Regions from separate parts of the Homo sapiens genome. Here regions 1, 3 and 4 are each linked to region 2. Evidence: promoter capture Hi-C in 16 types of primary human blood cells and fetal thymus (Javierre and others, 2016). All regions are on one chromosome and are shown on one strand. The core of a region is centred on a gene start or on the middle of the fragment in contact, and the rest is flanking DNA. Distances in the headings are between cores, read along the strand shown.

Region 1 (5,928 bases), core at 555-3,054, 200 kb after region 2:
TCGCATGCCAGACACAGAGCCAGGTACAAAGAGACATCTTGACCCCAGGAATGGGAGCAATGTCAGATGCTGGGGACTGCCTCGGCCTCCACCAGCCACACTCCAAACCCACCCCTGAGCTCTTCTCCCAGGCTCCCCTCCATGTCCTGCTCCCCAAACCCGTGTCAGTTGCTCACCTTCCAGACATGCAGCAAGCTTATCTCGAGGCGTCCTCGCTGTCTCACAAGCTGGAAAAGACCCAGGTGTTTACCTTTGGGATTGGGGTATGGCCAGGATGAGCTGGAGTCAGGGTGGATGGGATGTTGGTGAGAAACAGAAAGATGGATGAACAGATGGGAGGGACCAAGGAAGGAGTGGGGAAGGGGTGGATGGGTGGATGGCTAGGTGCAGCAGAAGATTCTCTGGGTAGAATTCTCTCACTGGGGTCCCCAGGCCTCCCTTCCTGGGGCAAATCCTTCCCGGTGCTCACCTGTGTACTTGGCCCAGAACACATCCTGAAAAACAAGGGCTGGGAGTGAGGCTACGGCAGCTCCTGTTTTGTGTTGTTTTAGTAAATGTTATGTCTCCTCCTCACACTTTCCTTTACCCTGGTCACGCAGGGGGCAGGCTCTGGGGAGGTTTGTGGCAGAGTTTCCTACTTTTGTTTCCAAAAGGAGAAGAATATTTGAGGATAGGGGAGTTCCTCCAACACACACACCGAGACTGAAAGAGGCTGGGGGAGATGGGAGGAGAGGGGGCAGTGGGACCCTGGCAGAGCCCTACAGACAGGAAAGGCGACACAGAGCTCCAGGAACACTGAGTCTTGAGCCCGGGGGCTTGTGGTGGCCTCCCCAGAGTCCCACCCCTCAAGGGTGGTGTGGGAGTCTGCCGCTGAGGAGGCCATGTGGACACAGAGCTCCAGGGCAGGTGGATGTCTGAAGACTGTGGAGGCCTCCCCATGTCATGGAGCTGCACAGGGACACAGTCCAGGCACAGAGACCCCCAGGAAAGGCTGAGGCCGCTCCTCTTGCCAGCCCTGTGAGGAGGGGCTCAGAGTTGAAATGAGGCTGTGAGCAGCGAAGGGGCTGTGGCGTTCCTCGCTTGCTTCTCTGTGGAAGTGTCTAGAGTTGGGCCCGGTCTGAGGCCCCGGCACCGTCCGAGCAGCCCAGGCTCACCGTAGCCGTGGAGGACTCCAGAGCCTCGAAGGCCTCCTCGTAGCTGCACGTCTCCTCCACGCACTCTCGCTCCAGGTTGCCCTTGCGCACCTCCTCCAAGAAGGTGTTGGCTCGCCGGACCCGCTGGAGCAGCGACCGTGCTTGCTGAGGAGCCAGGAACACTGTAAGGCGGTGGGGGGGTCATGGGACAGCGGCCTCAGGAACAGGCAGTCTTGGCCATTCTGGGGGCATGAAGCAAGCCCACCCTCCCCTGCTGGCTTCTGAGAGAGGCTGTCTGGGCTGGTGGAAGTGCCTGGAAGGCTGCTAAATGTGGCCCCCTGTGCCCCTCCTACACTGCCCCTTGCCCCCAGCCTGCTCCCTATATTGGAAGAGAGAAGCAGCCATTCTCTTTCCAGCCCTGAGCTCCTGACTTCTTCCCTAAGCTGGCCGCCTGGGGCTGAGACCTACTTAGGGGCCAGCTCTGTGTGCTCTGTCCAGCCAGGAGACCCCAGCCCATGGGCCCACACCCCAGTCCTCCAGCCTGTTCCAGCCTGCAAGCACTCCCTTACCATGCTGGCTGTGCACAAGGCTACACAGGGCAGCCAGGGCCAGGCAGCCAGGCAGCTGCAAGCCTCGGACGTGCGCCATAGTGTGTCAGCTCCTGGGTCACTGAGGAATTGTCTGTCCTGACCCCTCTGGGTTAATGTTGAACTAACATGAAGAAATCAGCGGAGAGGGTGAGGTCAGAGGGTCAGGGCCGTGGGGACGGGTGGGTAGATAGTCCTCCTGTCCATCTCCACCATCTGGGAGGACAGGTCCTCCTGGGAGCAGGGATGGATGGTCTAGGAGGAGTCACAAAAAAGGTCACTGTCACCCCCATCTCCCACCCTCCCCCTCTGAGATTTAGCCCATTCTGGCCAGTGGGGCTATGAGACTTTCCTGGAGCTCCTTCGAATCCTAACATATAGCGGTGGTTGCTTGTCATCTCTGTGTGCCTCAGTTTCCTCATCTATACAATGGGAATAATACTTTGTTGTGAGGACTAAAGGAGATTAGGAATGGAATGTCCATGGAATATCGTAAGTTCTTAATCAGATCTGCACATATAGGCCAATGTGGGGGTTTGTATAATCATAATACACAGATATCAAAAATAGAGACAAAGATAAAAGGTGTGGCCTGATGGAAGTTGCCCCTCGCCATGGGATGCACCAGGGATAGGAACAGCCAACATTTGCCCCAGCTTCTCAGCCACTGGAGGAGGGGCCCATTTCTCCTCCTTCCTGTCCAGGGTGCCTGGAGGTGTGTTTGTGTGTGGCAGCTGCCTGGGAGGAGTCAGGTCCAGGGACTCTTGGGCCTTTAGTCTATCTTCTGTCACCTCCCAGGACCTGCGCCTGTCCCGGAACAGGGGCTACTGAAATCCCTGGGTCTCCACTGAGGGGCCCTCCTTCTCCCTGGCTGCCTGCCCCATGGCAGGCCTAGAGAGGCTTCTGGTCCTACCCTACCCTCCGCCCTACTCCTGTCCCTCCCCCATTTCCTGTTTGCAGTACCCAAGGCAAATATTAGTCTAAGTAGGACAGAGGGACAAAGAGCAGGAACACGGGGAGGCACAAGTTCTCGCCTCGCCTCACCTGTCCTTTGGGCCTGGCTGTTTGGGGTCTGGACCAGGTCATGTGTGGGAACAGGGAGTGTTGGCAGAAAAACTGGGGACCAGGACTCCCGCAAACACCTTAATTCCTGGGAGGCCCATTTCTTATATATTTTCATATATATATTTTTAGGCCAGGCATAGTGGCTCACACTTGTAATCCCAACACTTTGGGAGGCCGACATGGCAGGATCGCTTGAGGCCAGGAGTTTGAGACCAGCCTGGGCAACATAGCAAGACCCTCATCTCTACCAAAAAAAAATTAAAAATTAGCTGGGAATGGTGGTGCATGCCTGCAGTCTGAGCTACTGAGGAGGCTGAGGCAGGAGGATCACTTGAGCCCAGGAGTTCCAGGCTGCAGTGAGCTATGATTGCACCACTGTACTCCAGCCTGGGTAACAGAGTAAGATCCTGTTTCTTTCTTTCTTTCTTTCTTTCTTTTTTTTTTTTTTTTTTGAGACGGAGTCTCGCCCTGTCACCCAGGCTGGAGTGCAGTGGAACAATCTCGGCTCACTGCAATTTCCATCTCCCTGTTCAAGTGATTCTCCTGACTCAGTATCCCAAGTAGCTGGAATTACAGGCGTGTGCCACCACACCTGGCTAATTTTTGTATTTTTAGTAGAGATGGGGTTTCGCCACATTGACCAGGATGGTCTCGAACTCCTGACCTCAGGTGATCCGCCCACCTCCACCTCGGCCTCCCAAGTGCTGGGATTACAGGCGTGAGCCACCATGCCTGGCCTGAATGAGACCTGTTCCTAGAAAAATAAAATAAAATAAAATAAAATTGAATAAATAAAATAAAATTATAATATATATTTTGGGTTTTTGTTGTTTTGTTTTTGAGATGGAGGCTGGAGTGCAATAGCGTGAACTCGGCTCACTGCAACCTCTACCTCCTAGGTTCAAGCGATTCTCCTGCCTCAGCCTCCCGAATAGCTGGAACTACAGGCACCCGCCATCATGCCTGGCTAATTTTTGTATTTTTGTAGAGACAGAGTTTCACCATGTTGCCCAGGCTGGACGTGAACTCCTGACCTCAGGTGATCTGCCCACTTTAGCCTCCCAAAGTGGGGATTACAGGCGTGAACCACTGCTACCTACCTGTTGGGTTTTTTTGTTTGTTTTTGTTTTGTTTTGTTTTGTTTTTTTGAGATGGAGTCTCACTCTGTCACCCAGAAAGGAGTGCAGTGGCGTGATCTCAGCTCACTGCAACCTCGGCCTCCTGAGTACAAGTGATTCTCCTGCCTCAGCCTCCCAAGTAGCTCCCAAGTGCATGCTAGGGATTACAAGCATGCACTACCACGCCCAGCTAATTTTGTATTTTTAGTAGAGATGGGGTTTCACCATGTTGGTCAGGCTGGTCTCGAACTGCTGACCTCAGGTGATCCACCTGCCTCGGCCCCCCAAAGTGCTGGGATTACAGGTATGAGCCACTGCCCGGCCTCTTTGCAGACTTTTACTCACAGTTGCAGGCCTGTTCAGTATATGACATTCTTATACCCAGAAATGGCTATCTTAGCCTGGGCTGCTATAAAATTACTGTAGGCCAGGTGCAGTGGCTCACGCCTGTAATCCCAATACTTTGGGAGGCCGAGGCGGGCCGATCACAAGGTGAGGAGTTCGAGACCAGCCTGGCCAACATAGTGAAACCCCGTCTCTACTAAAAACACATAAATTAGCTAGGCATGGTGGCACACACCTGTAATCCCAGCTACTCGGGAGACTGAGACAGAAAAATTGCTTGAACCCAGGAGGCAGAGGTTGCAGTGAGCCGAGAGTGTGCCAATGCACTCCAGCCTGGGCGACAGAGCAAGACTTCATCTCAAAAAAAAAAAAAAATTACTGTAAACTGGGTGGTTTAAACAACAGACATCTACAAGGGGTCTTCGAAAAGTTCATGGAAAATGCGTATTATGAAAAAAGACTGCATGGATTTAAAAAAATTTTTGTGCACCAAAATAAACTCACACTAACTTGCTATAACATGAGTGAACAGGATGTAGTTTGAGGCACTAAGAAGGATAAGACATCAGTTTGAAGCGAGCCCTTATCAGAGCTAAATGAATTCTGCTGAAATTGAAGCAAGAACAAACAACAAATTTACGGTGAAGCTTGGGTGGAAGAATGGTGAAATCACTGATGCTTTATGAAAAGTTTACGGAGACAATGTCCCAAAGAAATCAGCAGCTTACAAATGGACAACTCATTTTAAGAAGGGACAAGGCAGGCCGGGCGCGGTGTCTCATGCCTGCAATCCCACCACTTTGGGAGGCCGAGGCAGGTGGATCACTTGAGGACAGGAGTTCAAGACCAACCTGGCCACCATGGAGACACCTCGTCTCTACTAAAAATAAAAAAATTAGCTGGGCATGGATGTGCGTGCCTATAGTCTCAGCTATTTGGGAGGCTGAGACAGGAGAATAGCTTGAACCCGGGAGGCGGAGGCTGCAGTGAGCTGAGATCGTGTCACTGCACTCCAGCCTGGGCAACAGAGCAAGACTCTTGACTCCCAAAAAAAAAAGACATTTTTTGGACAAACAAAAACACTTAAATATAGGTTAGGTGTTTAGTGCACTACCATGGGTGCAGGACAACAATGGACCCAGCACATGCTTAGTCTTCAGGGTCTGATACAAGCCCCCAGCCTCCAGGAACCAACTGTTTGTTCTCCTTGGAACTCTGAGGTCCCTAGTTGGTACCATGCAGCCAAGTTTGGCATTCCTGCCGTTCAGCACAAACACGGCCTGCATACTTAAAGCAGACATATATATATTTTTTGTGTGTGAGACGGAATCTTGCTCTGTTTCCCAGGCTGGAGTGCAGTGGCATAATCTCGGCTCACCGCAACCTCCGCCTCCTGGGTTCAAGTGGTTCTCTTGTTTCGGCCTCCCAAATAGCTGGGATTACAGGTGTGTGCCACCACACCCAGCTAATTTTTGTTATTTTTAGTAGAGACAGGATTTCACCATACTGGCCAGGCTGGTCTCAAACTCCTGACCTCAGGTGATCTGCCCGCCTTGGCCCCTCAAAGTGCTGGGATTACAGGCCTGAGCCACCACACCCGGCCTTAAAGCAGATATTCTTGCCCTATAGGAGCAAGGCCATAACAAAGCGGGGGGCAGGGGGTGCATTCCTGCCCAACAA
Region 2 (6,075 bases), core at 2,943-5,442:
TCCCCTTAGCTGTGCCTTCTCTTCTAAAGTTTTAAGAACTGGCCGGGCGCAGTGGTTCACGCCTGTCATCCCAGCACTTTGGGAGGCCAAGGTGAGCGGATCACTGGAGACCAGCATGGACAACATAGTGAAACCCTGTCTCTACTAAAAATACAAAAAAAAATTAGCCAGGTGTGGTGGTACATGCCTGTAATCCCACCTACTGGAGAGGCTGAGGCACAAGAATTCCTTGAACCCAGGAGGCGGAGGTTGCAGTGAGCTGAGATCAGGCCAACCTGGGGCCCAGAGGCAGAGACTGCAGTGAACTGAGATCAGGCCAACCTGGGGCCCAGAGTGAGACTCCGTCTCAAAAAACAAAAAACAAAATAAAACAACAACAACAACAACAACAAAAACTTATCTCCATTCACATTGCCTTCAACAAGAAAGTGATTCTGGAAATAAGATAGAGTAATTCTTTGCAGTCTCATGTTTTAATCTTTTAAAGCAGTTTCTCAACCTTGGCACTATTAACATTTTGGGATGGATAATTCTTTGTTGTGGGGGATGCCCTGCTCACTGTAGAAAGTTAAGCACCATCTTTGAAAGTTAAGCACCATCTTTGGCCTCTATTCATTAGATGCCAGTAACATCAACTCCCCAAAATTGCCGGGTGCAGTGGTGCACACCTGTAGTTCTAACTACTTGGGAGGCTGAGGCAGGAGGATCACCTGAGGCCAAGAGTTCAAAGCAGCAGTGTGCTGTAGTTGTGCCTGTGAATAGTCACTGCACTCCAGCCTTGGTAACAGTGAGACCCTGTCTCTAAAAGAAAAAGCATGGTGGCTCACACCTGTAATCTCAGCACTTTGGAAGGCCGAGGTGGGCAGATCACCTGACATCAGGAGTTTGAGACCAGCCTCGTCAACATGGTGAAACCCCATCTCTACTAAAAATGCAAAAATTTGTCGGGCATGGTGGTGCATGCCTGTAATGCCAGCTACTCAGGAGGCCGAGGCAGAAGAATCGCTTGAACCCGGGAGGCAGAGGTTGCAGTAAGCCTACATTGCACCACTGCACTCCAGCCTGGGCAACAGAGTAAGACTACGTCTCAATAACATAAAACAAAATAAAATAAAATAAAAGGGAAGAAGAAAAGAAAGAGAGAAAGGGAGAAAGGGAGGGAAGGAGGAGGAAAGGAAGGAAGGAAGGAAGGAAGAAAGGAAGTCTTTAGATGTTGCCCCATGCCTGCCAATTCACCTGTGGTTGAGAACCACTGTGTTGAAGTGTGAAACTTCAGGCCTTATTCTCTTGTAGAAGAATTACATATAGAAATTCAGGTTGTTGAATGATTCCCGGGTTATAAGAGAATTCTACCAACCCAGTTGGATCAAAATAGTGCCCACCCCTATCTTGTTTCCGTAGCACTCCCTGCGTTTCCTTTGAAAAGACCATTAGTGATGGTCTAATTCAGGGAAATATTCTGATCTTGGGAAGAAAGAATGCTGGGCTGTTCTAGAAAGATGAAGGAAAGGGGTGGTGTTTCTGAGGAAACCAACGCCTCTGAGACCCCTCTGGAATTGGCAGTCCCCTACAACTTTTCTAGGGGCATGTCCCAGAGGACAGTGAAAGGGAGACAAACAGCCCATTCTGGCCTGCTTTTCAGGATCTCTCACTCCAAACAAGAAAGTCTGAGAGGCCTGGTAAAAATAAATATGGCTTAGTACTCCTGGCACAAGAGCAGTCTCTGACAGCCAAGACTTAACTCACCCTAGGGGGTGACCCAGACAGGGACTATGCACGAAGCTAGTTTCTTACCCATTGATATTCCCAGTGACTCACAGCAGCCAGGGATGACTCTGTGCACCAGAACTGTGCTGAACCGTGGAGAAGGACTTGGGATGCACATAGGAAACAGTCTCTCAAGCTGAGTCAGACAGGGACAGCCCGCCTCTCGTTTCTTCTCCAATTCCAGAAAAACAACACAAATCATGCCTCTGGAAAGGAACCTGTCCTTTGCATACAGAGTGGAAACTGTTTATAACTTCTTAATCCCCTGACATTGAAAGTATGGGGACTGCCTATCCTGGATTTCTTTGGGACAACTGTACTGGCTCTACCACAAGTCCCTAGTTTTCAGCTGGAAAAAAATATGGTCTCCAGAATCCCAAGGTCATTCCCAACAGATTTAAAAGCAAGTCTTCGGCCAGGCAGAGTGGCTCACGCCTATAATCCCAGCACTTTGGGAGGCCGAGGCGGGTGGATCACCTGAGGTCAGGAGTTCGAGACCAGCCTGACCAACATGGAGAAACTCCGTCTACGAAAAATACATTAGCCGGACGTGATGGCGCATGCCTGTAATCCCAGCTACCCTACTCGGGAGGCTGAGGCAGGAGAATCGCTTGAACCCGGGAGGCCGAGGTTGCAGTGAGCTGAGATGGCGCCATTGCACTCCAGCCTGGGCAACAAGAGTGAAACTCCGTCTCAAAAAAGAAAAAAAAAGAGCAAGTCTTCATAAGCAACATATATGAAACCCTGAGACCAACCAAACCTGCATTAGGAAATGAGAGGTGGGAAGGAGGATGCTGGGGAATCAGCCTCTACTTTTGACGTTTTTTCCTCCTTGGATTTTAGGCTGTGGTAACTGATCGAGGCCAGAAATGTTGACAGTCTTGCCTAGCCCCAAGATCATGTAAGCCTGACCTGACGCTACTGCCGCCTTCAGTCAGCAAGAAGAACTACACACCCAGAAAATGCTTCAGTAATAGTTACCATGGTGATGCTAGTTCAACCACATTGCATCTGGATAAAAATTTCAGGCAAAACGATATAGAAAACTACTGCCTAACAAGGAGTTAACACCTTACATCTTTTATGTTGTTGTTGTTGCTGTCGCAAAGTATGGTTCATGTTAGCTTTGGTAAAAGATGGTAATTTGAAGTGAAAGTACTGAAAAAAACAAGCAAGGATGAAATGTCAATGTATCCATTTAGAGAAATCTAATAACCACTTTGCACTATGCCAAATTACTTTCCCCTCAGCTAACAGGGGGCATTTGGGTCTTCCTGACTCTATTTACTGGTGAGGAAAGTGAGTTAATGAAATCCATAGATGATCCAAGCCCAAGAAATGCTGGCATATCAGCTGGGAGGGAAAAAAGCGATATACTGGGCCATCAGAAAGTTGGGCATTTGGGCAAAAGGAACAAAACAAGATTCAACCTGGAAAAATGGAAGGTGGTGAAATTAATCCGTATTATTAATATGCATTAGGGAGAGTAGACCACAAAAGGAAGGAAGACTAGAGACAAGTTTATGATTTTATGCAGTAAATCAAAAGTTAAATCTGAGGGAAGGACCTACAGACTGGGGCTGGAAGGAGGCTGAGGGCTTTGTGGGAGTGCAGCTGCCCATGAGGACTCCTTTCCTGACCCCCTCCCTTCCTTGTCAGGATCAGAAAGTCAAAGAAGGTGAAGAGGCTAACAACAGTGATTTACAAAGACAGCAAGGAGGAACTAAGTCTGTATGGGCCGAATCTGGGCCTCTGAGCTGGAGCAACAGGACCCAGACAACCATCTCAGGAAATGAGTGAATGAAAAGGGGCGGGGGGGTCGGTGAATTATTTAGCCCTAGAACAACGCTGCCTAGACCGGGGGAGGCCAGGGAGAAGAAAATCTCCGAAAAGGAATTTTGACAGTGAGAACGCCAGTTAAGATACAGCACTCCAGGCCCCCTGATGTCCCTTGTTTGATGTCAATAAAGACCCAAGAGGATTATGCATCCACAAGCCTTGCGTATTCGCAGACATCAAAAAAGTCTGGACTTGGGGCCGGTAGGCGGGGGCAGGGTCACGTCCAGGCGACTTGGGTCAGCTCAGGTGCTCGTCTGAAGCATAGAGCTGGAGTGAGCGGGGGCGAGACTTGCTGCTAGGATAATTTTTTTTTTTTAAGTTAGGGAAATTTAAGCAGTAGTAATAGCGACAGGGAGGGGGCTCTCTCTCGGGCCAGGAATGTGGGGGCGGCCTGAGGAGGAGCGGGGCCCCGCGCAGGAGGCGCCGGCGGGTGGGGTCGGGGGACCAGGGAGCCGGGGCCGAGGGCGGGAAGGGGCCGGGCCGGCGCTGGGGGCGGGCCCAGGCGCGGTGGCGGTGGCCGGGGCTGCGGCGCGGGGGGCGGGGCGGTCGGGCCCGGGACACCCCCTCCCGGTCCCCTGGCGGGGCAGCGTCGGCTCTGGCAGCACTGGAGGCGGCGGCGGCCCGAGGGCGACTTGCGGGGCGCGCAGGCCGCCGTGCACCCGGGACGCTTCCCCCTCGGGGACCCTCCGCGGGCTTCTCCGCCGCGCCGTCCGGCGGGAGCCGGCGGGACCCCGGGCGAGCGGCGCGGGCGGCACCATGAGGCGGCAGTGGGGCGCGCTGCTGCTTGGCGCCCTGCTCTGCGCACACGGTAAGCGGCGCCCGCCGGGAAAGTTTGTCCCTGGGTCCGGCCGCTGCAGGACTCGCCTCCCGGGACCTGGACGGCGCGGGCCGGGGCCTGAGACCCCTCGCCCTCGCTCCTAGCCGTGGCCCTGGGGCTGCGTGCAGGGGAGAGGACCCGGAGCGGCCCCGGCTCCAGCAGTCCGAGCGGGGGCATCAGCGGAGGCGCTTCCGCGGGTTCGGGTCTGGGCCGGGGCGCGGGTCTGGGCCGGGGCGCGGGTAAGGTCCGGGGCGTTCGTTCGCTCGCCCTCCCTCGCTGCTCTTTCAAGAGCGGGGGCTGCTTCCCTTTCAGGTTAGGTCGGGGGCTCTGTGTCCTTGGTGCGAATGAATGCGTGCGAAGAAAGGGAGGCGGGTGAGGAGGGTCGCTAAACCCATAAATTGTAAATAGCCCTCCTTCCTGGGGCTGGGGGCTCGGGCGGGTTGCGGAGAGAGGCCCCGGTAGAATCTGGTACTTGGGCACCGGGATTCCTCTACTCGGAGAACGATTCCCGGACTCCAGGTCTTGCTCCCACCAAGGGGCTCTGGGGCACTGTTTGCGGGCAGCATCTCCCCTCGGCGGTGTTTCGGGGTCCCTCTCTTGGCTGCGGCCAGTCAGCTTCCAGCCCTGGATCGTCCTAAAGGGAGGTGGTTGGAAAGGGGGCTGAGGAGGAATATAGGGAAGAAACTGCTGGAAGGCTCCCGCAGATCTGCCCTGGCTGGGGTAGGGGGGCAGGGGGCCGGTAACCCTGAACCCCAGAAGGCAGCCGCCGGGCCCTCGCGGCAGGGTCCCAGCCCTCGGGGGAGCTGGACGGCTGCAGCAGGACTCCTTGGTGCCCGTACCCCCTGTTGTGTGGGACTAGGGCTCCGATGGAATCTGCTTCTCCGCGGGCTCTTAACGACCCTGGGTGCACCCCGTGATTGAGCAGCTTTCCCTAGTTTGTGCCCAGAGATCAAAGAACTTTGATCTTTGAACCCCAGCCCTATTCACCCATCGCTATTCATCGTGGCGGGAGTTCCGAGTCTCCCCATTTGCCTCGCAGCCCCGATGAAGGGAGCTGGGGCTCAGAATGGAGGGGTCTGGAGACCCTGCCTGGTCTTTTACCGGTTCTTTCTTTCACGTAGGACAGCTCGTGTGGAAAAAGTCAGTGCAGATTTCCGAACTTGCCTGGCAGGGCGTGGAGATGTCTAGGCACTCGTTTTAAAGATTGGTTTACCTCCCAAATCCAAAACAGAGTTTTCATGTCTCTTATTTAAACTACCTGTGGGTTTTCAGGGGCTTTTTTCCGCGTCCTCTCTAGCGCGGACTGAGCTCTTTCTCTCCGAAGAGCGGTAGCTTGGCCGGCCCACGTTCCGCTCCGCTCTGCGCTCTCCCCTCCCCGGCTCTCTCCTGGAAGGTTATTTGTAGCCTCTTTGGCGTGTTGGGACAGCGGCCCTACTGGGGTAGGAATGTAGCTGTTCTTCCCACCACATGGGCCCCTTAAAGGGACAGCTTTGCTTTTTGGGGGGTTTCCCCCTTCGGGTTGCAAGGAAAGGGGATGGAACTTTCCTCTCAGCCCCCTGGAGGAAGTTTTGAAAAAGATCAAGGGAAATGGCAAGGCACTGGGAAAAAAAAAAAAAATTAGGGTTAAAACGGATACCAACAAAGCCAGAGAG
Region 3 (5,337 bases), core at 1,473-3,972, 220 kb before region 2:
ATCACTTTCATGCTCCCTTTTTTTTTTTTTTTGACGTTCAGTCTCACTCTGTCCCCCATGCTGGAGTGCAGTGGCACAATCGGCTCACTGCAACCTCTGCCTCCCAGGTTCAAGTGATTCTCCTGCCTCAGCCTCCCAAGTAGCTGGGATTACAGGTGCCTGCCACCACGCCAGGCTAATTGTTGTATTTTTAGCAGAGACAGGGTTTCACCATGTTGGTCAGGTTGGTCTCGAACTCCTGACCTCAGGTGATCCATCCACCTCGGCCTCCCAAAGTGCTGGGATTACAGGCATGAGCTACCACGCCCAGCTGCTTTCAGGCCCTTCTGGTCTCCAACCGCAACCCTCTTCATCACAAGTCACTGCCAACCCTTGCCTCCTCTTTTCTCAGAATATCCTCTAGGGGTGTGTGTGGGAGTGTGGGTATGTATTTGTGTGTGTGTTTTGTTGTTTGCCTAATACTCTCACCACCCTCCAACTCTGTCTTCAGAGCCGGAGGCTCCCCACAGAAACCACAAAGGATCATTTTAAAGGGAAGTAACAGTTTTTACAAGGATTAGGTGAGATAGTTAAGGTAAACAAATTTAAATAGAACAATGAAGGTAAATGCATTCAGTATGATATAGGGAAGGTAGGCATTCTTCGATAAACATGATTTTTGCTGTACGTCCATTTGCAACCCTAGCTCAGGTTTTTTTTTTTTTTTTTTTTTTTTTTTTTTTTTGAGACGGAGTCTTGCTCTGTCGCCCAGGCTGGAGTGCAATGGCACGATCTCTGCTCACTGCAACCTCCGCCTCCCAGGTTCAAGCGAATTCTCTTGCCTCCACCTCCCGAATAGCTGGGACTACAGGCAAGCGCAACCGTGCCTGGTTAATTTTTTGTATTTTTAGTAGAGATGGAGTTTCGCCATGTAGGCCAGGCTGGTCTTGAATACCTGGCTTCAGGGGATCTGCCTGCCTTGGCCTCCCAAACTGCTGGGATTACAGGCGTGAGCCACCGTGTCTGGCCTAGCTCAGGTTTTGAGTTAAGTAAGTAAAAGTTAACTGAGGCATAGTCCAATTACCTCATGTGGTTAAAAATTGTGAATGATGGTGAAACCCAACACAGAAATTAGGGGCTTCTAACTATTTCTGCCAAGTCCTGGTTCTGGACTGATCTTGAAAACCTTCTTCTGGCATAAATAATATAATGTGCCTTTCCTTCAACTGGGGCTTTATCACCTTTATGCCCTTCCAGTCCCCAACCTCAACTCTCTTCATCACAAGTCACTGCCAACCCTTGCCCCCTGATATGGTTAGGCTTTGTGTTCCCACCTAAATCTCAACCCGAATTGTAATCCCCAGGTGTTGAGAGGGAGACCTGGTGGAAGGTGATTGGATCACATGGGCAGTTTCCCCCATGCTGTTCTTGTGATAGTGAGTGAGTTCTGAAGACATTTGATGGTTTTATAAGCGTCTGACATTTCCCCTGTCTGTACTTCTCTCTCCTACCACCATGTGAAAAAGGTCCTTGCTTCCCCTTTGCCTTCCACCACGATTGTAAGTTTCCTGAGGCCACGCGGAACTGTGAGTCAATTAATCCTCTTTTCTTCATAAATTACCCAGTCTTGGGTAGTATCTTTACAGTAGCGTGAAAACACACAAATGCAGCCCCTCTTTTCTCAGAATATCCTCTAGGGTGTGTGTGTGTGGGGGTATTGGAGGGGTCTGGGCTTTTTCTGCCTCTTCATCTCACCACCCTCCAACTCTATCTTCAGACCCTGAGGCTCCCCACAGAAACCACAAAGGATCATTTCGCTTCCCTTTGGAAATGCAGAATGTATTATGTTTTGGGGCACATCCCAAATAGACCCCTCTCCCACTGCCAGTTTCTTCCCTAAATGCTCCTTTTTTTCATTTGTATACACTCCAGGTTTCTCTAGGAAGCAGTGGCCCACAGAGAGCTGAGTTGGTTTCAAGAGTCCAGGAGACGTACCTGGCTGCTTTCTGAGTGAGCTCCAGCGGGAAATCAGGACACAGTAATTGCAGCAAACAGTGATATTCTTTCATGGTCAGCAAATCTGAAGTGGAAATGGAGAGGAACACATTAGGTCTCTGCATTTCAAGTCACTGCCCTCTTTTTGTTCATTTCATGAGTTTCAGACCTGGTCTTGGTAGAGCTGTTCTTTTAAAAGCAAGTCAGTGTGAAGGGTATGCTAGTCTCTAACCTCCAGGTGTGAGATTTTAAGATCAGTATTTCTACAAAGCTTTTCCAGGGTGGGAGGCATCCAGTTACACCATTTTGACCAAAGGAGCTTCACTGGTATGAAAATTGGTCGGGTGAAGAGAGCAAACAAGAGAGGCACCTTCATCAGTCTTCTTTAGTTTGGTTTTCCTTGTATATAAAAATCTGGAAGAACAAGTCATTTCAAAGCCGGTTAAATTTGCTGAAATTCTCTGGCATGGTAACGTTTCCCACCACATGCCCAAAGACCATCCACAGAATATCTGGAAGCAGTACTAACGCAAACAGTCTTGCTGTGTAGGGAGAAGAGTACAGCATAGAAACCCACAGACCTCATTACTCTGTCATCCAGTACTGCAGCAGGCTGGCTTCTTTTGAATGGCTGAACACAAATCTGGTCATCCTATTATAGGAAGCCAAGACAAAGGTCCAAGATATACAGTCAAGGCAACCAAATGATTCCTGATATACAGAAGCAATGCTTTGTGCTTTGGGAGAGGTGAGCCAGGATGAGGCTCTGTGGTCCAGCAGAGAACCCAGAGAGGTGAATCTCAGAGAAATTTATAGGATCCTGAGGGAGAAGAAATACACTGATGCTTAAGTTATTTTGTTGCTGCATGTACTGAAGGCAAAAGATTTTAGATCAGCCAAGGAGTAAGAATGTGTAAGTATTATCATATATCAAAGCATTTCGAATATGGAAGGGCCTGGTAATGCTAAAGTGAGAGCAATCCACCCGGAAGCCTGCCTAATTGGGAGGAGGATGAGTGAGAGGAGGGAATCCAGAGGGCATGGCTACATTTGGGGAATGAAGATGATGATCACAGGCACTTGGTTTCTTTGGACCTAAGTTAGCCCAAGCCACAGGAATCCAGATCTCCTGCCCCCGTTAGTTTGGTTGATGCTTTTCCAAGACAAAAACCCCAAATCTCCAGGGAAAGGCCTGGGTTCCTAGTACTTTTTCATCAAAGCTTAATTCAAGGTGGGGACAGAGAGTTTGACTAACCACACTGCCAAAGTCAGAAACACCAAAGGAACAGACTCAGCGTCAATATAGGTCAAAGGATCAAGATGGTTTTGTGGCACTCTCCTCTTCCCACTTGCCTGACCTCGGGCACAGCCTGGCAGGAGGTCTTGTTCTTCAAGGGAGGGAGTCATTGCCACTCGTGGTCTCAGGCTTGGGGTGAGGAAAAAGGCGAAGGGAAGGGAGAAAATCCACTGAGTCTAATGTGTTCCCACTTTATTCTCACTCCAGAACTCCCCATGTAGAGAAAAGAGAAGAGTGATTTCTGGCAGGGCAGGGAGTAAATAAAGGAAAGTTCTATCTTTGAATCATCGTGCTTTTCTAGGCTAAACTTTGGTGGATATATCTGATAGCATTCTTAGGGAGAGTCAGAGTGTTTCATAGGAACTTACATTTATCCCCCAAATTACCTACAAAATATCCTTGGGAAGATAACAGAATGAAGGAAAATGAAAAAATGAGAGAGAGAGAGAGAGAGAGTTACTTAATTAAGAAAGACAATGCTAGGAGTCAACATTAGCTTCCTGGTTTCTAGACCCTAGGCCCTCTTCAGGTTTTTGATATTATTCTAACTCATGTACTTCAAGTACTTGCTTCCAAGGACAGAAGAATGATTTACAAAAATCACTGCGTGCTTCTCTAACACAACAAAAGCTCTTAAAAATATGAAAAACAGAATACATCCTGCTCACCACTTCTGGAACTTGACTCTTCTAAATGTTAAGTGAGGACAGTAGTCAGATAAAGAGATTAATGAAAATGCAAGCAAATAAACAACTTTTAATTGTGGAGAGAGTAGTTCTATTAGTTGTTATTATTATTCTTCCATGCAGACTCTGTGTTGGGATGTGGAGAGAGGAGTTCTAATTCTACTGAAGTAGTGACCAGATAATGTCAAGGGCAGATGATTTCTGCTACTTCGAGACACTCCTCAGCTGTTGTACAGTGGGTATTGAGAGAACTATAAGTGGTAAGACTTATTTCAAAATCAGAACACTGATAGGCATATGGGAGCTTGTTCCCTTTCTGCTCCATAGGCTAGGATTCAAATTTTGGCTCTGCGATTCACCAGGTATGTAATCTTGGGCAAATTGCTTAATCTCTCTAAGTCTCAGTTTCTCATCTGTAAAATGCAAGTGACACTGACACTTCTCAGGGTTAAAGTCAAGTGTAAGAGAGATGATGTCTATAAAGTGCTTAGCAGAATGTCTAGAACTTAGTAACATCAAACAATGGGAGTTTGTTTTGGTTCTGTTTTCAAATTCTGGAGGTGAGAAGAAGAGAGGAGGAAGGTATTTGTTGCTGAGTTTTTTTTATTTTAAATTTTAATTAATTAATTAATTAATTAGTTTTGAGATGGGGGCCTCACTCTGTTACCCAGGCTGGAGTGCAGTGGCATAGCTCACTGCAGTCTCGAACTCCTGAGCTCAAGTGATCCTCCCATCTCAGCCTCCCAAGTAGCTGGGACTACAAGCATATGCCACCACACCCTGCGCATTTAAAAAATTTTTGTAGAGACGGGGTCTCGTGCCGTCACCCAGGCTAGTCTTGAACTTCCCGCCTCAGCTTCCCAAAGTGTTGGGATTACAGGCATGAGCCTGGCTGTTGCTGAGTTTGGACACTTAAACACCTAAAAGTTTTCTGCCTTGAAAGTTCTCTGTTGGGTTGCCTGAGCCAAATCCGTTTTGAACACTCTCCTGCAGTGGCCACTCACTTCCTATTCCCATGTGCCTGCTCTGTTCCAGGCTCCCCATTATGATGAACAAGGTAGCAGTCCCCCTAGCTTCTGCAGCCTGCATTTGGGCACCAGTTCACCCTAATGCTCCTGTCTATTTTGGGCCCTTTGGCTCTTAGAACTGTCCAAGATCTCAAAGGCCCTTCTCACAGCCCTTTGTGCTCCAGCAATAACTGTAAAGAGAGTGAGTAGCCATGGAGATCTGTGCTCAGCTCTTGAATTAACTCACTTAGGCCAGGCGCAGTGGCTCACGCCTGTAATCCCAGCACTTTGCGAGGCCAAGGCAAGAGTTCACCTGAGGTCAGGAGTTCGAGACCAGCCTGGCCAACGTGGCAAAAACCCATCTTTACTAAAA
Region 4 (5,568 bases), core at 956-3,455, 160 kb before region 2:
CTAGCTGTCTTGCACAAACTGTTGTCCTGCAACTACCTTCCATTATCATTCTAAGAATTCTCTTTCTTTCTCTCCTGTGTTGCACCCCTTGATGCTAGATCTCATAATTTCATCTTCCTAAACTTATTCTCACTTTTTGATAAAACATACTCTTCAGTAGTTTCATGAGAAAGGCTGCATAAAAGTTAAAGTTTATGAAACCCTGCCCATCTAAAAATCTTTATCCTCGGCTGGGTGTAGTGGCTCACACCTGTAATCCTAGCACTTTGGGAGGCCGAGGTGGGCAGATCACCTGAGGTCAGGAGTTCGAGACCAGCCCGACCAACAAGGTGAAACCCGTCTCTACTAAAAATACAAAAAATTAGCTGGGTGTGGTGGCGGGTGCCTCTAATCTCAGCTGCTTGGGAGGCTGAGGCAGGAGAATCGCTTGAACCCAGGAGGCGGAGGTTGCAGTGAGCCGAGTTTGGGCCACTGAACTCCAGCCTGGGCGACAAGAGCAAGACTCTGTCTAAAAAGAAAAAAAAAAAAAAACAACTTTATCCTCACAGTTGATTGATAGTTCGGTTTGGTACAGAATTCTAGGTTGAAAATAATTTTCTCTTAGAATTCTAAAAGCATTGCACTTTTTTTTTTTTTAAGCTTCTCATGTTGCTGTTGAGAAGCCTGATGGCATTCTAGTTCTTCCAATTTCTCTTTCTAGAACTTCAAATTTTTAGGTCTTATACTCCTGGACTGGGCCTTCAGTTTTCTTTTTTTTTTTTTTTCCTCCTGTTTTCTACTTCTTTGCCTTTGCTGGGTAATTTCTTGATCTTTCAACCCATCTACTGAATTTTTCTTTCAGCTATTACAATGTTTACTTTCTAAGAACTCTTTCTTGTTCCTTTTTTTTTTTTGGAGACAGAGTCTTGCTCCATCACCCAGGCTGCAGTGCAGTGGCACCATCTTGGCTCACTGCAACATCTGCCTACTGGGTTCAAGCAATTCTTGTGCCTCAGTCTCCCGAGTAGCTGGGATTACAGGCACCATGGCCAGCTGATTTTTATATTTTTAGTAGAGACGGGGTTTTGCCATGTTAGCCAGGCTGGTCTTGAACTCCTGACCTCAGGTGATCTGCCCTCCTCGGCCTCCCAAAGTGCTGGGATTATAGGTGTGAGCCACCATGCCTGGCCTCTATTTTGTTTTGTTTTGGCTTCTGGCTATCATATTAGAGACTTCCCCCAAATTTCTGGTGATCCTTGAATACCTGAATATGTTCATTCCTATTTGGTGCGAGGTACTAAAAAACTGGTTATCTGAATGAATTGGAGCTTGTTTATATTGAGCTTCACTGTAGAATGAATGGGCGGAAACCTGGTCATTTCATTGTGCAACTCCTAAATGTCAGATTTGTAGGGACTTCCTCTGAGGCTATTTCAGTTTCTCCAGAAAATATTCCAGAATCCCACCTGGGGTATATTCATTTGGAAGCCAGCATTCTGACAGCTAAGCAAGGGAAGGGAGCTGGAAAATAAATGTCAACATTTAGCAGATAGACATTGACAATCTTTTTTCACTAGGGCATCTCACCTACGCTCTGTGTCTGGTGCTCCTGAGTCAAGAGCTCCTCTAGTTTAATATCTCCAGTCTTCTATGGAATGAAGGGTAGTGACCTTGATGCTTGAAGTTGGGGGAGGGATCTGGGGATCTAATTGCTCCTCATAATGATTTTCAATATATCCTCTTATTTTCAGCTCCCCTCTCACTCCCAGTTTCAGAGTACTTGACACCTCCAATTCTTTTTTTTTTTTTTTTTTTTTTTTTTGAGAATGAATCTCGCTCTGTCACCCAGGCCTGGAGTACAGTGGCGCAATATCAGCTCACAGCAACCCAGCAACCTCCACCTCTCAGGTTCAAGAGATTCACCTGCCTCAGCCTCCTGAGTAGCTGGGATTACAGGCACCTGCCATCATGCTGAGCTAATTTTTGTATTTTTGTAGAGACGGGGCTTAACCACCCTGGCCAGGCTGGTCGCAAGCTCCTGACCTCAGGTGATCTGTCTGCCTCTGCCTCCCAAAGTGCTGGAATTACAGGCGTGAGGCCACCACGCCTGGCCGACACCTCCAATTCTTGAACCCACCTCCAATTCTTGAACCCTTTTAGGCCTCTATGGCACAAACATACCTTTTTCCTTTTGCAAGTAGTTATACATCAGTTTTCTTTACCAAATCAGTTTTTACTTATGCTTCTGCTGTCCACCGTCTAAAATTTGGTGGATATCTATTATTTCCTGTCATGTCTTCCTTTGTTTTGTTCTTGTGCCTTTACATCTTTTCTCCCTCTTTATTATACTTTTATTTTATTTTATTTATTTATTTTTTGAGGCAAGGTCTTGCACTGTTGCCCAAGCTGAAGTGCAGTGCTGCGATCTCGGCTCACTGCAGCCTCTGTCTCCTGGGTTCAACCGATTCTCCTGCCTCAAGTCCCAAGTAGCTGGGACTACAGACATCTGCCATCACACCTGGCTAATTTTTGTAGTTTTAGTAGATATGGGGTTTCACCATGTTGGCCAAGCTGGTCTCGAACTCCTGACCTCAAGTGATCTTCCTGCCTTGGCCTCCCCAAAGTCCTGGGATTACAGGCATAAGCCACCACACCTGACGTATTACAATTTTAGTGTGCTCTACAGAGACAGCAAATAAACACATGTATTTGGCCTGACACTTTCTAGAGGGTCTATAACTATTTACATGTCCATTTTCTTTCAGACGAGACTGTGAACTCTTTAAAAATAGAACTATATTCTCCTTATTCTTTTAGTACCAGCACCTAGAATAATACCTGGCACAGAGGACACACTAAAAAAATACTGTTGAATAAACGAATCGATGAATGAGGGAGCTCCCTGTATATCTTTCATCTGGCATAGAGCTTTGAACATTGAAAGCACTTAATAATACACAAATTCAATAAGGAAAACTTTATGGCTGACATTTTGTACTTAAAATTTCAAATATATGGTTCTCAGGAAGACTTGTATACATTGTAATTATCACTTACATGGCTACAGCATTTAGGGTATACACTACAAACAGAATATAGTCCTGTTAACTAAGTAACTGCTAAAAGTGAATTCTGATTCCATTGTTTGAAAAGTCTCCATCTTAATGTCTTTTTTAAAAGAAAATTTCCCCCCTTCCCCAACCTTAGTTTTGATTTTTTTTTTTCTGTTTTTTTTTTTTTTTTTTTTCTGAGACAGGATCTTGCTCTGTTGCCCAGGCTGAAATGCAGTGGCATGATCACAGCTCACTGCAGCCTCAACCTCCTGAGCTCAAGGAATCTTCCCACCTCAGCCTCCCAAGTAGCTGGGCCAGAGGCGTGAGCCACTATGCCTGGTGAGTTTTTCTTATTTTTGTAGAGATGTTGGTCTCATTGTGTTGCCCAGGCTGGTCTCAAATTCTTGGGCTCAAGCAATCCTCCCATGTTTGCCTCCCAAAGTGCTAGGACTATAGGCATGAGCCATGGCAACTGGTGCTTTTTGATTTGTTGTTGTTGTTGTTGAGACTGTTGCCCAGGCTGGAGTGCAGTGGCGCAATCTCAGCTCACTGCAACCACTGCCTCCCGAGTTCAAGAGATTCTCCCGCCTGAGCCTCCCAAGTAGCTGGGATTACAGGTGTGCACCACCACGTTCGGCTAATTTGATTTTTTTAATAGAAGAAGAAAGGTGTAGGAACATATTAACCACAAATTAAAAGACTATATGAAAAGCCACTGTTTGACTTGAGAACAAGCTTGTGCACAGAGATGACAGTGTTACACAGCATATGTACTGAAATCTTCTACCCTCAATACACTAAAATAATGAATTTTTCATAGTAGTCATAGTTTTTACATCACTTTAGAGTCAATATTCAGAATAATTACAAAATATTTTTCTAGGACCTGCTCAAGTATACAAAAATATAGTTTGTAATATATCAAAGATATCTTATGAAATAAACTTAGCAATAAAGCAAACTTCTCCATCACAAATCATATTTACTTTTTATTCTAGACAAGCTGGTTTCCTCCTTTCTTTTCAAAAAGCATTATTATTATCACTTTAGCGCTCATGCTGCCTAAAATGCCTTCTTCTCTCCCTCCTATTCAATTTTTGTCCATCTTTCAAGGTCCAATCTAAGCTTCCTTTTCTTTCTTTCTAAGTTTTAAAATATTTCTCAAAAAAATACAGGGTCTCACTATGTTGCTCAAGTTGGTTTTGAACTCCTGGGCTCAAGCAACCCTCCTACCCTGGCCCCCCAAAGTGCTCGGATTACAGGCATGAGTCACTGCACCCAGCCTAATCTTCATTTTCGATGAAAGCTTCCTTCCATTGAGAGCTTCCTCTCCTCTTCCTGATGCTCCGTAGCACCTTTTTGAACCATACATCCCGACACCGGATTACATTCTATAGGATCCCACTCCCTAGTTGTCTTCCCAGCTAGATTGTAAGCATCTTGGTAGCCAGGCCACAGCCTTCTTTCCTATATCTCATAATTTCTAGTACCACTTTGGACACATAGCAGATGCTCAAGCAAAATTTTCCTATATGAAAGCTATAAAAATAGCTTTATTTTTACTATGATTATAAAAATGTTATATGCTCATTATAAAAACTCAGACAATATAAAAATGTGTGAAGAAAAAAGTAGTCTCAACACTAAGAGAAAATCATTCACAACATTTCAGTAAACCTCCTTCCAAATATTTTTGTATGCATGTAAACATATAAAGACATAAAGATACATAATTTTATATAAATAGTACTCTACCATCATGCTGTTCTCACAATAAATATAAATGTTCAGTGTCTGCCTAGAATATTATCACATATTTGCTCATCATTGCTTTCTGAATTTAATTTTACTTTAAAAGTAGAAACATACTTTCAAGAAATTATTGGACAATTAGCATAATACATAAGGCTCTGATCACTGAAATTATATATTTTTCAGACTATGAATTATTTTGTCATCACATCTATTGTAATTATAAGTTCATTTTTTATCCATATATGTGTGTGTGTATATATATATATTTTCTAATTAAAAGAGCTGGAATACATCTATATATTTTAAAAGATATTGGTCATCTGGTAAACACTTTTGTGGACTACTCATTAATCCTTATATGTTTTGTTATACATCTTTCCTGAGGTTTCAATTAGCTAATATATCCTCACATTCCTTCTTCAAGTGACAAAGCTGATGATAATTACTTTCCTATATCGGTTTCATCTCAATTGGATGGCCTCTTGTTTAAACGATAGTGGTGATGGTAAAGCCTACGTTATATAATTTGTCCATGTAAAATCCATCAAATTGAGTTTTTGAGAAATGGTAATTTACAGCTTTAAAGGTTCTGTTTGGTCCTGTGCATCTAGAAAAACAGCTTGCAACCTACTAAGTTCCTTCTGGTCATGCCAGATGAGAATTTCCAGACCGTTTTTCAAATCAGGGCAAGGGGAAAAGAACAGAACAGGGAATCCTTGGCTGCCACAGCCAGCTTCAAATAATTCAGTGTGCTGGGAACAGCAGCCAACTGGGTGCGACT

Evidence for each region. Contacts are between HindIII fragments. The CHiCAGO score rates a contact against its expected background, and 5 or more counts as called.
Region 1: the fragment with the promoter of F2 here is called in contact with the fragment with the promoter of LRP4 in region 2 in 1 of 17 cell types (M2 macrophages); the score reaches 5.0 in M2 macrophages.
Region 3: a fragment that was not itself captured here is called in contact with the fragment with the promoter of LRP4 in region 2 in 6 of 17 cell types (M1 macrophages, M0 macrophages, megakaryocytes and 3 more); the score reaches 11.1 in M1 macrophages.
Region 4: a contact is called between a fragment that was not itself captured here and the fragment with the promoter of LRP4 in region 2, in 1 of 17 cell types (M1 macrophages). The highest score is 5.2, in M1 macrophages.

The regions. Positions count from the first base shown.
Region 1 is chr11:46,715,089-46,721,016 of GRCh38, reverse strand. It overlaps F2 (coagulation factor II, thrombin), which reads right to left and starts at 1,804. Exons shown (of 14, transcript NM_000506.5): 1 at 1,703-1,804; 2 at 1,155-1,315; 3 at 470-494; 4 at 177-227. The coding sequence starts at 1,781. The HindIII fragment of the contact is 4,700 bases long and covers 198-4,897 here.
Region 2 is chr11:46,916,667-46,922,741 of GRCh38, reverse strand. It overlaps LRP4 (LDL receptor related protein 4), which reads left to right and starts at 4,192. Exons shown (of 38, transcript NM_002334.4): 1 at 4,192-4,414. The coding sequence starts at 4,363. RefSeq lists enhancers at 1,767-2,266, 2,267-2,768, 3,463-3,967, 5,131-6,002 and silencers at 4,028-4,257, 4,268-4,447, 4,458-4,627. The HindIII fragment of the contact is 10,743 bases long and covers 1-6,075 here.
Region 3 is chr11:47,134,367-47,139,703 of GRCh38, reverse strand. It overlaps CSTPP1 (centriolar satellite-associated tubulin polyglutamylase complex regulator 1), which reads right to left. Exons shown (of 9, transcript NM_024113.5): 4 at 1,975-2,059. LOC124902671 (a long non-coding RNA gene) reads left to right here and starts at 2,828. Exons shown (of 2, transcript XR_007062666.1): 1 at 2,828-2,887. The HindIII fragment of the contact is 949 bases long and covers 2,248-3,196 here.
Region 4 is chr11:47,072,160-47,077,727 of GRCh38, reverse strand. All of the region lies in intron 3 of CSTPP1 (centriolar satellite-associated tubulin polyglutamylase complex regulator 1), which reads right to left. Among named protein-coding and RNA genes, the nearest start is that of ARFGAP2, 100 kb to the left of the region's middle. The HindIII fragment of the contact is 3,128 bases long and covers 642-3,769 here.